Regions from separate parts of the Homo sapiens genome. Here all the other regions are linked to region 3. Evidence: promoter capture Hi-C in 16 types of primary human blood cells and fetal thymus (Javierre and others, 2016). All regions are on one chromosome and are shown on one strand. Each heading gives the region's core, a stretch centred on a gene start or on the middle of the fragment in contact. The rest is flanking DNA. Distances are from core to core; before and after follow the strand shown. Region 1 overlaps ST7L (suppression of tumorigenicity 7 like). Region 2 overlaps ST7L (suppression of tumorigenicity 7 like). Region 3 holds the start of CTTNBP2NL (CTTNBP2 N-terminal like).

Evidence for each region. The method cuts DNA at HindIII sites, captures the fragments that hold promoters and counts their contacts. A CHiCAGO score of 5 or more calls a contact.
Region 1: a contact is called between a fragment that was not itself captured here and the fragment with the promoter of CTTNBP2NL in region 3, in 1 of 17 cell types (M2 macrophages). The highest score is 5.3, in M2 macrophages.
Region 2: a contact is called between a fragment that was not itself captured here and the fragment with the promoter of CTTNBP2NL in region 3, in 1 of 17 cell types (endothelial precursors). The highest score is 5.3, in endothelial precursors.

Annotation. Positions count from the first base shown.
Region 1 is chr1:112,595,964-112,600,159 of GRCh38, reverse strand. ST7L (suppression of tumorigenicity 7 like) reads left to right here. Exons shown (of 15, transcript NM_017744.5): 5 at 2,074-2,189. Among named protein-coding and RNA genes, the nearest start is that of ST7L, 21 kb to the left of the region's middle. The HindIII fragment of the contact is 7,279 bases long and covers 1-4,196 here.
Region 2 is chr1:112,541,729-112,545,835 of GRCh38, reverse strand. ST7L (suppression of tumorigenicity 7 like) reads left to right here. Exons shown (of 15, transcript NM_017744.5): 14 at 3,746-3,885. Among named protein-coding and RNA genes, the nearest start is that of WNT2B, 35 kb to the right of the region's middle. The HindIII fragment of the contact is 1,939 bases long and covers 1,530-3,468 here.
Region 3 is chr1:112,394,463-112,398,726 of GRCh38, reverse strand. CTTNBP2NL (CTTNBP2 N-terminal like) reads right to left here and starts at 2,513. Exons shown (of 6, transcript NM_018704.3): 1 at 2,455-2,513. RefSeq lists a silencer at 2,266-2,315. The HindIII fragment of the contact is 10,453 bases long and covers 1-4,264 here.

The DNA.
Region 1 (4,196 bases), core at 882-3,381, 200 kb before region 3:
CTGAGGCAGGAGAATCACTTGAACCCAGGAGGCAACGGTTGCAGTGAGCTGAGATGACGCCATTGCACTCCAGCCCAGGCGACAAGAGCAAAACTCCATCTCAAAAAAAAAAATTTTTGGTAGACAGGGGTCTTGCTATGTTGCCAAGGTTGGTCCCAAACTTCTGGGCCCAAGTAATACTCCTGCCTTGGCCTTCCAAATCACTGGAATTACAAGCATGAGCCACCACACATAGCCTGTGTTTAATTTGATAATCATAAGAAACATTACATCAAACTATATGTTTGTGATACGTATAAGTATATATTAGGCCCCTGGTTTATAATACATATAAGTATTTGTGATACGTATAAGTATACATTGTATACATTTAAGTATGTATTAGGCCCCTGGTTTATAAAAAGCCTTTTTCAAAGAATTTGTGACATTAAGAAAAAATTACCAGTGTCAGCATATTCCTGTGCATGAGTGCTAAATTTCAAAATTTGAGGATGCATTAGAAAATATCACTCTGAATGTAAATTGTGCAACAGTAGAGGGACTATATATTGACTTCATATTGCCGCTTCCTATTTTCACTACTGTGTCCATTTCTCTTCTGGTTTTTAACTCTAAATGAGAAAACATCTTTTGAAACTTATGAGCAAAGATACTTTACTTTTATTTTGAGGAGTGCTGCGTTTTACCCAGAAGTAGAATGGGGCATGTTATTTAACTTATTGAATAAGAAACATTATGTTTGTACCATGTACAGGCACTGTGCAAAATGATGGAGATACAAAAATGACTAAGCAATAACTCCTATGCTTAAAGACATGATAGTGTAAGATAGTGACATTCTGTGAAGTGAAAGCCAGGCTTTTATGAAAGATGCCATTAGCCTGTGTTAAGGGATACCTGTAAGAAACAGGTCCTTGTATCTCTTACTGTGTTTAATCAAAGTTTGAGGCTATTTGTTGTATTATGCAGTATCCATTTCCTGAAGATCTTGAAAAGAAGTGTGTGTGTGTGTGTGTGTGTGTGTGTGTGTGTATACACACACATCCACATATATATATATATATATATATATATATATATATATATTTTTTTTTTTTTTTGAGGCTGAGTCTCTCTCTGTCATCCAGGCTGGAGTGCAGTTGTATGATCTTGGTTCACTGCAATCTCCTCCTCCTGGGTTCAAGTGATTCTTCTGCCTCAGCCTCCCAAGTAGCTGGGATCACAGGCGGCCGCTACCACATGCGGCTAATTTTTGTATTTTTAGGAGAGACAGGGTTTTACTATATTGGCCAGGCTGGTCTCAAACTCCTCAAACCCCAAGTGATCCTCCTGCCTCAGCCTCCCAAAGTGCCAAGGATTAAGGCGTGCGTGAGCCACTGTGCCTGGCCTAGGATAAATTTATTAGTATCAGGAATCCTTATGCTTCTTTTGAATGATTATTTTCTCTTAATGTTAAAGTATAACTTTTGGGTATACATTTCATATGTTAGCTCCATTCCAGGCTTCATTTTGTGTCTCAATTCCCAATCCTTAATTTTCGTTTTACTGAGTCTTTTTTTTTTTTAGTTAAAAAATAGAGATAAGATCTCGCTATATTGCTCAAGCTAGTCTTGAGCTCTTGGGCTCAAGTGATCCTTCAGCTTCAGCCTCCCCAGTAGCTGGGATTACGGGTGCAAGCCACTGCACCTGGCTGAATTTTTTTTTTTTTTTTTCTGGTAAAGACAGGGCTCACTGGCTCACTATGTTGCCCAGGCTGGTCTCAAACTGCAGGTCTCAAGTCATTCACCAGCCTCAGCCTCCCAAAGTGCTGAGATTACAGGCATGAGCCACGGCACCCGGCCCAATTCAATTTTCAGAAGCAGTTGTTTATTGAATATTATTTTTCTATTTGGTCTTTGATGTTTTATTATCATACTTTAAGTAGTTTGTGAGGTTATCTTTTGTTTTACTGATTGTAAGATTTTAAAACATCCAAATGTGTAGCAGTACATTTTTGAATTTAAGTAGTGTCTGTTATAGCAGATAGATGCTCTCTCATGTTCAATTTAAATATTTTGTTGTGTTTTGGTAAAGATACACTTGGGTGACTGGTAAAGAGCCACTTACATACTATGACATGAACCTGTCAGCTCAGGACCATCAGACCTTTTTCACCTGTGACACAGATTTTTTACGTCCTTCAGACACAGGTATGTATCATATCTGTTCATAGTATAAACAGTGATCATGAAGATCATCTTAAAAGTTCTTTAGAGTTATTTATTATAATATACAGAGTTATTTAGTTATTTGGCTTGGAGTTGTTTATATTATTGATAACAAACTCAGATTAAATTATGACTATAAGCTAGGTTGATACACTGCTTTTCCTTATAAAGAATTTAAAATATTTCATATTTCTTTTACTACTTCAAAAACCTTTCAGATCAAATATAGCAACTACTTTTCCAGAAAACAGTGTACCCCATTTCTGTCTGGGAAATGAACACCTGCAATTATACATAAAATAGAAGAACAGGTCAATGTATAAACATTGGAGAATGGCATGTACAGAAAACTGGAGTCTATTTTGTTTTAGTCGTGAGTTAGAGATACATATAAAGTGGTAGAAGATCATAGAAATTTCTGTGTTTAGTTTTCTCTAAGTGCTTATCTATAGAAGAGAGTATTGAGACTCTTAATTTTATGGTTTAAAGACAGGGCTGATTGATTGATTGATTTCACTCTGTTGTCCAGGCTGGAGTGCAGTGGTGCAATCATAGCTCCAAGTAACCTCAAACTCATTACAAAGCATTAGGATTATAGGCATGAGCCACTGTGCCCTGGTCTGGGATCTTTATCACAATTTTTCTTCTACTTTGAATGCACTCACCCTCCTTATCTATCTGATGAGTTACTTTTTATCCTTCATTATCCAAATTGAAAGTCACATTTTCTAGAAAGCCCTCTCTGGGATTCCTTGTCATAGAATTAAACATTTTGTTTTCTGCAGTTCTATACTACTTTGTCTAAACCTCTATGAAGTAACTTTAGTTAATTTATTCAGCCACAAACATTTATTTGTTAATGTTATTATATTGCTTTCATGTTTGTCTTTGCTACTAGGGTATAAACTTTTGGACAGCAGGGACTATATTCTCTTCATCTTTGAATCTCTATTATCCAGCACATTGCCTGGCATAATGTAAATATTAATATTTATTCTTTGAGGAAAGTATGAATGGGCTGGGCGCGGTGGCTCACGCCTGTAATCCCAGCACTTTGGGAGGCCGAGGTGGATGGATCACCAGAGGTCAGGAGTTCGAGACCAGCCTGGTCAACATGGTAAAACCCCGTCTCTACAAAAATATAAAAATTAGCTGGGCATGATGGTGGGTGCCTGTAATCCCAGCTACTCGGGAGGCTGAGGTGGGAGAATCACTTGAATCCCGGAGGTGGAGTTTGCCGTGAGCTGAGATTGGGCCATTGCACTCTAGCCTAGGCGACAGAGTGAGACTGCATCTCAAAAAAAAAAAAGTATGAATGAATGAATGGCCTAGATGTCACAGATGTCTAAGCAATTTCACTAATAATAGCTAATACTTGCCTAGGCTTACTATGTGCCAGGCACTGTTCTGAGCAATTTATAGAAATTTAATCTTCCCAGTCACTTGATGAGATAGGTGGTATTATCAGCCCCATTTTAACAATAAAGAAACCGAAGCAAAGGGGGATCAAGTAATATGCCTTGAGTCACACAGCTAATATTGATAAAACCATGTTTCAAACTCAAGACTGGCTGTTAACCACTACACTATTACTGCTTCTACCCACCACAAAATCACTGAAGGGTCTGAAAAATAGCCAGTTTCCTGCATTAAAATGAGTTCATAGTGATTTATCTTTGCTAGATTAAATAGGTTAAGAGTGGATGATAGGAAACCCATGAATCTTTGGTATGATTACATAAAATGGTTTAATTGCAATAAAGGAGTAAAAAAAATAGATTTATGTTTATATGCTTAATGTTTATATTAATGGCAAAAGGATAGGTGTTGGGGAAATAACAGCAGCACAGTATCAGTACTGTATGTTAACTTTAAGGGTTGAGTGACTCTGGAAGTTAGGTCTCACCACCCTTTCTCTCACAGCCCCTCTCACAGAGTGACACTGAATTGCAAACGTCAGCAGGCTTTTAAAATAGCAATCATGGCTAT
Region 2 (4,107 bases), core at 1,250-3,749, 150 kb before region 3:
AAATCACTAAGGAAAACTGTATACAGTGAGAATTGAACTGAGGGTGGAACCATGGATGCACAGAAATGTCTAAGCAATGAGTGGCAGAATGACAGTTGAAGATTCAGTGAAGAGGTTGTCAGAGAGACAGGACAAGAACTAAAACTAAATATGCTAGAACTAAAAGGAAGAAGAAATTTCCAAGTGAGGAGTAATATCCAAGATAATAGGTAAGGTAAATACTAAGAAGAATCCATTGACTTTAGCAATTAAGATGTCATTAATGAGAGAAATTTTATTTTCCTTTCTAAAGAGGTGGTGGTGGTAGTTCTTGTTGTCTTTCCATTTTAACAGGAACAAATATATTTAAGGCAAAAGAATGGACCTTAAATTATGGAACATCAATATGCAAGAGTATATTATATTAAGCTAATACATTTAGCCTAAAATAATGCCCTCCTTTGTAAATTATTGCAAAGGTTGTCTAATATAAGGCCAATTTTACATAGTAATATGAATAAAATCAGGGTTATTATGTTGTCAAAGCTGTAAGCTATAAGACCAGACAGTTTATTCTTGGCAAGCCTTTATTCTAACTTGGTGCAAACTCCAGAAGGTAGGAGAGGGGGAATATGCTGGGGGGTTTTGTTTGATTATATTTTATGTTCTTAGAGTATTTTTTTCTGTCTCTGACTGTGGAAGAATGAACAAATTGTTAACAATAAGGAGTTTTAATACCCAGGAGTACTTAATGTTTTTTGTTTTTAATTTTCCTTCAACTTTGATATGACTTACCGCATTCTGGAATTTGCTTATGGACCTCATAAGTTCAGAGTTGAACTATTCCCCTAGTTCACATAGCTATTTAGTCGTCTTTTATGCCTTCTGATAAATTTTTCTCTACAAGCCAGTGATGAAATTTGAACTTTCGTTCCAAGGGAGTGTTTCTGTAATAGTCATCCATTATTTTGATGTATTAGCCAAACATTGACTGACAAATGAATCTACAGAAAGCAATCCAGGAAGAAATAATTAGGTCTCTCTTACAGTATAAAAATCTCATATTTTAGGAAATTTCCTCACTAAAGCTATGCAGTTTTCTACCTTATAAAGTGAGAATACTACTATCTCTTAGGGTTACTGAAAAGAATTAAATGAGCTAATATAAATTAAAGTTCTTTATAAACCATAAAATGCTATATAGGTTAGGTAATATTACTAACTTTGCTGTCTTGTATGTGTTTCCCACCTTCTTGAATAGCAGGGTTTGTTTCTCTTGATTTGAAGTTGGGAAGAAGAAGAAGTTGGCCTCTCATGGCTGAGGGACAGGGCAAAGGGGATTGCTGACTGGTTCTTTGGGTGCTGAAAGCACAATGTTCTCTACAGTTTCTAATGTTTCTAACTTTTAAAACTTCCATTTTGATGTGCTTTTACTTTAATCATGGCTCAAGGTTCTGGACATTTTCTGGATTTTTAATGGGTTTGTGTTTTGGTATATACTTTCTGAATATAGTAAAATAAAAATTAAAATATAGCTGTTGAAGGAAGCTTAGGTGTAATCTCTGTGAATCATTATGTTTTAAAAGTGAAATTTATAGCTGACCTTGGTTCAGCACAAAATTAGTCATCCCTTACTAATGCAGGATATTACATCAGAAATTCCTGGGTTAGTATCCAGCCCTAAGCGGTCAACTTCCTGGCCTAATGAAGTCCCAGAATAGCTCTCAGTTTAGCAGACATTTATTGAGCACCTACTGCATGTTAAGTACTCTAATAGGCTCATCTCAGTATTGTTATTCAAGTATTTTCAAATTTCAAATAAAATATAAATACTTGAGTATAATTGATAACGAAATATCCAATCACTAGAAAAATAATAGCTGAGTAAATATGTAAATATGGTAAAATAAGACAAGGGACTTTATTTATGGTCAGAATCCTAGGCCTTCAGTTTGCTAGTTTAGGTTTTTTTTTTTTTTTTTTTTTTTGAGATAGAGTCTCACTCTGTTGCCCAGGCTAGAGTGCAGTGGCATGATCTTGGCTCACTGCAACCTCTGCCTCTCAGGTTCTAGCGATCCTCCTGCCTCAGCCTCCCAAGTAGCTGTGACTATAGGTGCACGTCACCATGCCTGGCTAATCTTTCTATTTTTAGTAGAGATGGGGTTTCACTATGTTGGCCAAGCTGATCTCAAACCCCTGAACTCAAATGATTCACCTGCCTCGGCCTCCCAAAGTGCTGGGATTACAGACATGAGCAACCACACCTGGCCTACCTACTTTATTTATTAATTAATTTACATATTTATTTTTGAGACAGAGTCTTGCTCTGTTGCCAGGCTGGAGTGCAGTGGCACAATCCCAGCTCACTGCACCCTCCGCCTCCCGGGTTCAAGCGATTTTCCTGCTCAGCCTTCCTGAGTAGCTGGGACTATAGGCGCGTGTCACCACGCCCACCTAATTTTTATATTTTTAGTAGAGACGGGGTTTCACCATGTTGGCCAGGATGGTCTCGATCTCCTGACCTCGTGATCCACCCGACTTAGCCTCCCAAGGTGCTGGGATTACAGGCGTGAGCCACTGCTCCCGTCTTACCTACTTTAGTTTTACAGTGCCTAATGAAATGCCACATATATAAACACATTAATAACTGGGTAAAATTATTAACTGATGGTCCTAGGAAATCACCAATGACATGTCTGCCTCTTTCTCCATACTAGTCTTTGAGCTCCCAAAGAACAATAATTAATAACAACTCAATGCCAGGTGTGGTGGCTTATACCTGTAATCCCAGCGCTTTGGGAGGCCGAGGTGGACGGATCACTTTAGGCCAGGAGTTTGAGACCAGCCTGGCCAACATGGCAAAACCCCTCTCTACTAAAAATACAAAAAAGTAGCTGGGCGTAGTGGCCTGTGCATGTAATCCCAGCTACTTGGGAGGCTAAGGCACAAGAGTCACTTGAACCTGGGTGGCAGAGGTTGCAGTGAGCCGAGATCATGTCACTGCACTCCAGCCTAGGCAACAGAGCGAGACTCTTCTTCTTCAAAAAAAAAAGTAGCAACTCAAATGTATTTATTTATTTATTTATTTATTTATTTATTTATTTATTTAGAGACAGGTCTGTCACCCAGGCTGGAGTGCAGTGGAATGATCATAGCTCACTGCAGCCTCAAACTCCTGGGTTCCAGTGATTTTCCCATCTCATCCTCCAGAGTAGCTGGACCTACAGGCACACACCACCATGCTGGGCTAATTTTTAAAATTTTTAAAAATTTTTAAGCACGATTTTGCTTAGGTTAGTGTCGCATGCCTGGCTTTAAGCGATCCTCCTCTTTGGCCCCCCAAAGCGCTGGGATTACAGACGTGAACCACCACCTGTGGCTGCAACTCACATTAAGCACTTAAAATGTTCATCATTACAACTCTCCATAGCAACTTCTAGAGGGTTTAGCAACTTATTCAAGATCACATAGCTAATAAGTGACAAAGCTTTTTTTCAAAATCACCTCAGCATGATTTTGTAATCAATATTCTTTCCCATGACGCCATCCTGTTCCCACACCCAGCACAGTTGTCTGGCTATTTAGATATGCTGTTGATGCTGGGATAAATAATGGATAACTGTCTTCTACCTTGCTTAGCCAGAGACTTTCCTTTTTAAATTTTTTTTCTTTTTAATTTTTAAAAACAGATTTCATTTGAAAAGATTAAGACTTGTTTACATGTTATTCTGAAATAAAATTGATTCTTACCTATTCTCCATTGCAGCCTTTCATCATGTTTCTGTTTACCCAAAAAAGGAGCTTCCTTTGTTCATCCATTTCACAGCAGGATTTTGCTCTTCTACAGCAATGATAGCCATTCTCACTCACCAGTTTCCTGAAATCATGGGTATTTTTGCTAAAGCTGTAAGTATGATCTCAAGGACTTGTGTAGATTATTTGTAAAACACACAAGAAACCATCTCTGATCTGCCTGTGCTAACCCAGCTGAACAATGGAAGATATTTGTTGTAAATTAAAGGAATTGATTTGTATATAGTTGCTGCCATAAATACATCAAACATAAATTTTTGGTGATTTGAGCTACTTCTGTTGCTTAAAAGTTTAAAGAATACAATATAAGATTGT
Region 3 (4,264 bases), core at 1,264-3,763:
CAAGCCTCCTGCCTCAGCCTCCCAAGTAGCAAGGATTACAGGGATGAGCCACCACACCCTGCCTCACAGATATTTCTTTATAAGAAATTCAAAATTTTAGTCACTTAAGACACTGGAATTTCATAAGACAGAAGATGGGGAAAATCAAGTTAAATGAAGACAACAAGTAGGCCGTTTATACTAACAAATTGTGCCAAATCTAATCAGTACATTGCCTTTCAGTCTACCCTAAGGTGACAGCCTCAAACTAAGTTAAACAAACACTCATGAAGTCATACTATATACTAGGAACTGTGAAAGATATAAAGATGAAAAACAAAAAATACTACTATCTGCCCTCAAAGAATTTATAATTCAAGGAGAGAGATCAGACATCTATCCTCTGCATACTATGCTTTTCTTCACCTAGCATGACCAAACAGGTGTTGAAAAGGTTAAAGGAAAGATTTTCAAGACCCAAAAGTGTAACAAACAGATCTTGCTTACTGTGCTAAATAATAAAAGAATATTATTTGCTTTTTCCTATTAAACCTCGGCAATCACAACTTTGGTTTGCTTAGTCTCTTACCTTAGTTTATTTTCTGTTCTCTGTTGATATAATACAACTTATCTTTTTGGGATTTTCTGTTCTGCTTTTAGTTTTTTCTGCTGTTATTGCTGGGAGCTCACGTCTTACCCTTCTATTGCAGCACACATTGCGTTTGCTAGAGACACCCTCCAGTTTCTTCTTTGTACTTTCTTACTGGAGATTTGGAAACAATCACTGAGAAGACCTGTGAGCACCGAGTGGCTCTGAAAACTTCAAACCTAACTATTCAAAAGTAATTATCTTTAGGAAGTCTACCTTCAGAAAGTCTAATCAAGAAGGTAAAAGACAACAGTCATTACAATCACCCTCCGTGATTCCAACTCCTTGCATTTTATTGCCATCAGCTTTGGCTATAGCTGACAGAGGGGAGGTAGACTTGAGATTGGAAGCAAAAGAAACTATGCTAAAAACATGGTAAATTTTAATATATAAAAGCGCTAGCAATAGATGATTACTGGGGATTCAACGACATTAACATGAGGTCAAAATCAACACTTTGCACCTGCTGAAATGAAGACCACTTGACAAAACCTTTAGGAGCACACTAGAAGAGGCACTTTTTGGTAAACATGAATAGCTAGAATACCTTGCCTTTATTTACTCTTATCTCTGAGATTTAAAAATTGTTCTTACTTTTCATCCTCTAAATTTTGATAGATGATCGTAAAACCAATCAAAATATACATGAATGTTTCCTGGGGGCGGGGAGGACACTATAAAAAAGGGGTTAGAGAGTTACCAAAGGACATAGGACTAGATTAATCATAAACCTAGATGACTGACCCTGAATTTTCTTCAAACACTTCCTGTCTTTTGTTTCAACCTGCAGTATACCTTCAAGGTTAACTGCAGTCTCCCTGAGCAATGGACCAGCCCACCCTAGACTGGGATATACTCATTCCTAATCCACTGCTACTTATTTACTTATGTATACTGTTTCATTTGAAAACATGGTGTTATTCATTGACTGTCAAGCAACATATACTGCATTCCTGCCCACACAAAGCCAGCTCTGCAGATATCCAACACACCCACCTCACTGTGAAATATAAGATGGCTTTTCATCAAGTTCTCAGGGAGGAAATAGGGTGGAAAAGGAAAAATGAAACGCAATTCAAACCTAAGAAACCCTTAGAGGCTGGGTGCTCCCAGAAGGAACAGAAAGTAGAAGGAAGGTACAAAGGGTGAAGGAGAGGAGGTCCTAGTTCTCCCTCTTTCACAGTCCAAAACAGTCCCAAAACAGGAGAGCTCTCGACTCCTCACAAGAGGCCAGAGGATGCGAGGGGCTGCGGGAGGAAGACTGAGCATCAGAGAATGGGGGATGGGAAGAACTTAAGTGGGAGAAGCCGCTTCCTCCGTAAAGCTGGCTGTCTAGGTCGGTCTTTGATTTTTGCTTCGCCCCATCCCTCCTTTTTGGGAAACACCAATTTTATCTTACGGAGGAAAGCAGCTCCAGTCCCACCCTGGCGAGCAGGGACAGGTGTAGGGAGGGATGTTTGGCCTTCCGGGGGTACGAAATGGGGTTGGGGGCGGCAGCCTAGAGAATCGGTACCTGTGAGTCCTCTCCGCCAAGGCTGAGGTGCGGGGTGGGAGGTGCCTTTGAATGAGGGGTGTCAGAGGGAAGCCCCTTCTGAGGAGCTGGGAATCGACGAGGGACAAAAAGTAGCTGTGAGGACCCTCGGAGGATGAGGAGCCGCCTCCTCGGGGAATACCGGGAGGTGGAGGAGACGGCCCCGCCCCCTCAGGGGATGGGCCCAGAGGCCGTTGAGACGGCGGCGGGAGGCTACCGGTGCCCCTATCCTTGCTTTGCTCTTGAGAACCCGGCCTCCCAGCCATCACCAAGCCCCAGGGATAGTTGCTCCTACCTTTCCACGACGCTCCGGGCTCCGCTCCCCTCCGCCTCCACTCCCCATCCACAGCGGCTGAGGCTCCGCCCCCTCAGCCGCCCGGCGGGGGCATTGGCATTCACCAGCGCCAATCGCCTCCTTGCTTCTCCAGCCTCGGCCCCAATCCGCGCCGGCTGGAGGCGGGGCTTCTCCAAAGTCATTCAGGCTCCTCCCGGGGCCCCAAGATCCCTTTTGTTTGGGAAGAGCAAGGCCGGGATTGAGCTCGCGTCACTTCCGGGAGGAAGCGCCCTCCTGGGTCCTGGGCTTCAGGGTGGGCTCGCGCCCCTCCCGGCTCGGGGTCTGCAACTTTCCACCTCTGCGTGAAAAGTCTGGGCAGGACCGTGACTAGTGCTTCGTGCTTTTACCTGACTGTACGCGGAGTTTAGGAATGGAGGGCTCTGGTGGCCTAATCGATTGGGATTTTATCCAGAATGTTAATAAATGAAGTGGGCTTTGGTGTCTGCATTAGAATGAATTCGTTGTTGAAAAACCTGGCTTCCTTGCTCCCTTTTTTTTTTTCTTTTTTCTGGAAGCGCCTGTGGGCGTGGTGCTGGAAGCAAGGGTGCAAAGATGAAACACCTGGAGATCACCCTTCTCTCAACCACATTTTGTACAGAAGAGGATACTAACTTTGGGGGACATAAACCCAGCCGACCTGCCTTCCAGGCGGAAGTCAAATAATTGCAAATTTGTGTGGCAGGTTTTTCCACCCTATGCTTGCCAGCTGAGGCGACTTTTTTCTTTCCTTGGCCTCATTATATTGTGGGGAATGGTGTTTGCAGTGAAGTTGAAACAATGGAGAGTACAGAGGATGCAAGGAATGTCTGCCTTGTGAACACAGGAATGCAGATCTTGGTGGCAGCAAGTCTTAGGCAGGACCAAATAACTCAGAGAGGGGAGTGGATGTATAACTAGTTGTATCCCTACCTAAGGTCAAAGTTTCTGAATTCCTTTTCCACAGAATGGCTGTCAGCTCACAGATTGATGCAGCTGGTTACATTTACAATAACCACATTATTTAAAATACAATATAATAAATATTTGAGACGAATATTCATAATGCATAAATAATGTAGTACACTTAATACATTATCCCTAAACTTAGCAATTATAATTCGCAAGACAGCATTAGGGACCTAGTGCTTGCCTAGGCAGACAGTCCCCAAGGCAGATGCAGCCTGCCTCATGCAGTTTACAGTCTGACTGAGGGATGTGATCAGTTTGTGCGATTATAGTCTGAAAGAAGTAAACAAGTATTTATCATGTTATCACTGTGCCATGTACTTTCATTTAATGGTATTTGATGTCATTTTCAGTGCTGTATGAGAAATCTATCCTACAGTGTAGGATAGACATCATTGTGTCCAATTTACAGATGAGAAGATAGAGATTCAGAGAAGTCAAATAAAGTCATAGAGCTAGTAAATGGTAAAGAATTTCCAGTAAGGATGTATGACTCCATACTTATGCCATATTCTGCTCACTTCACACTGGCTCTCACATGCTGGACTAAGAATGGGCGTGGATGATGGTAAAGCAAACATTAGAGCCAGAAGGACAGCTCTATGCCTCCCCCTGTTGATTTTAGGCTTGGGAGGGTCATCTCTGTATATGAAGGATAGCAAGACTATGAGTGAAGGTGCTCGATAGCAGTGTAAGTGAATCTGGAGTAATGATGCAGGGTATACTGAACTTCAGAAAGGCATTATGCCTTGTGTTCTGAAAACTGACAATCTGAAAGCTAAAATGAGGGGCCAGGCACAGAGTAGGTACTCAATAAATATTGACT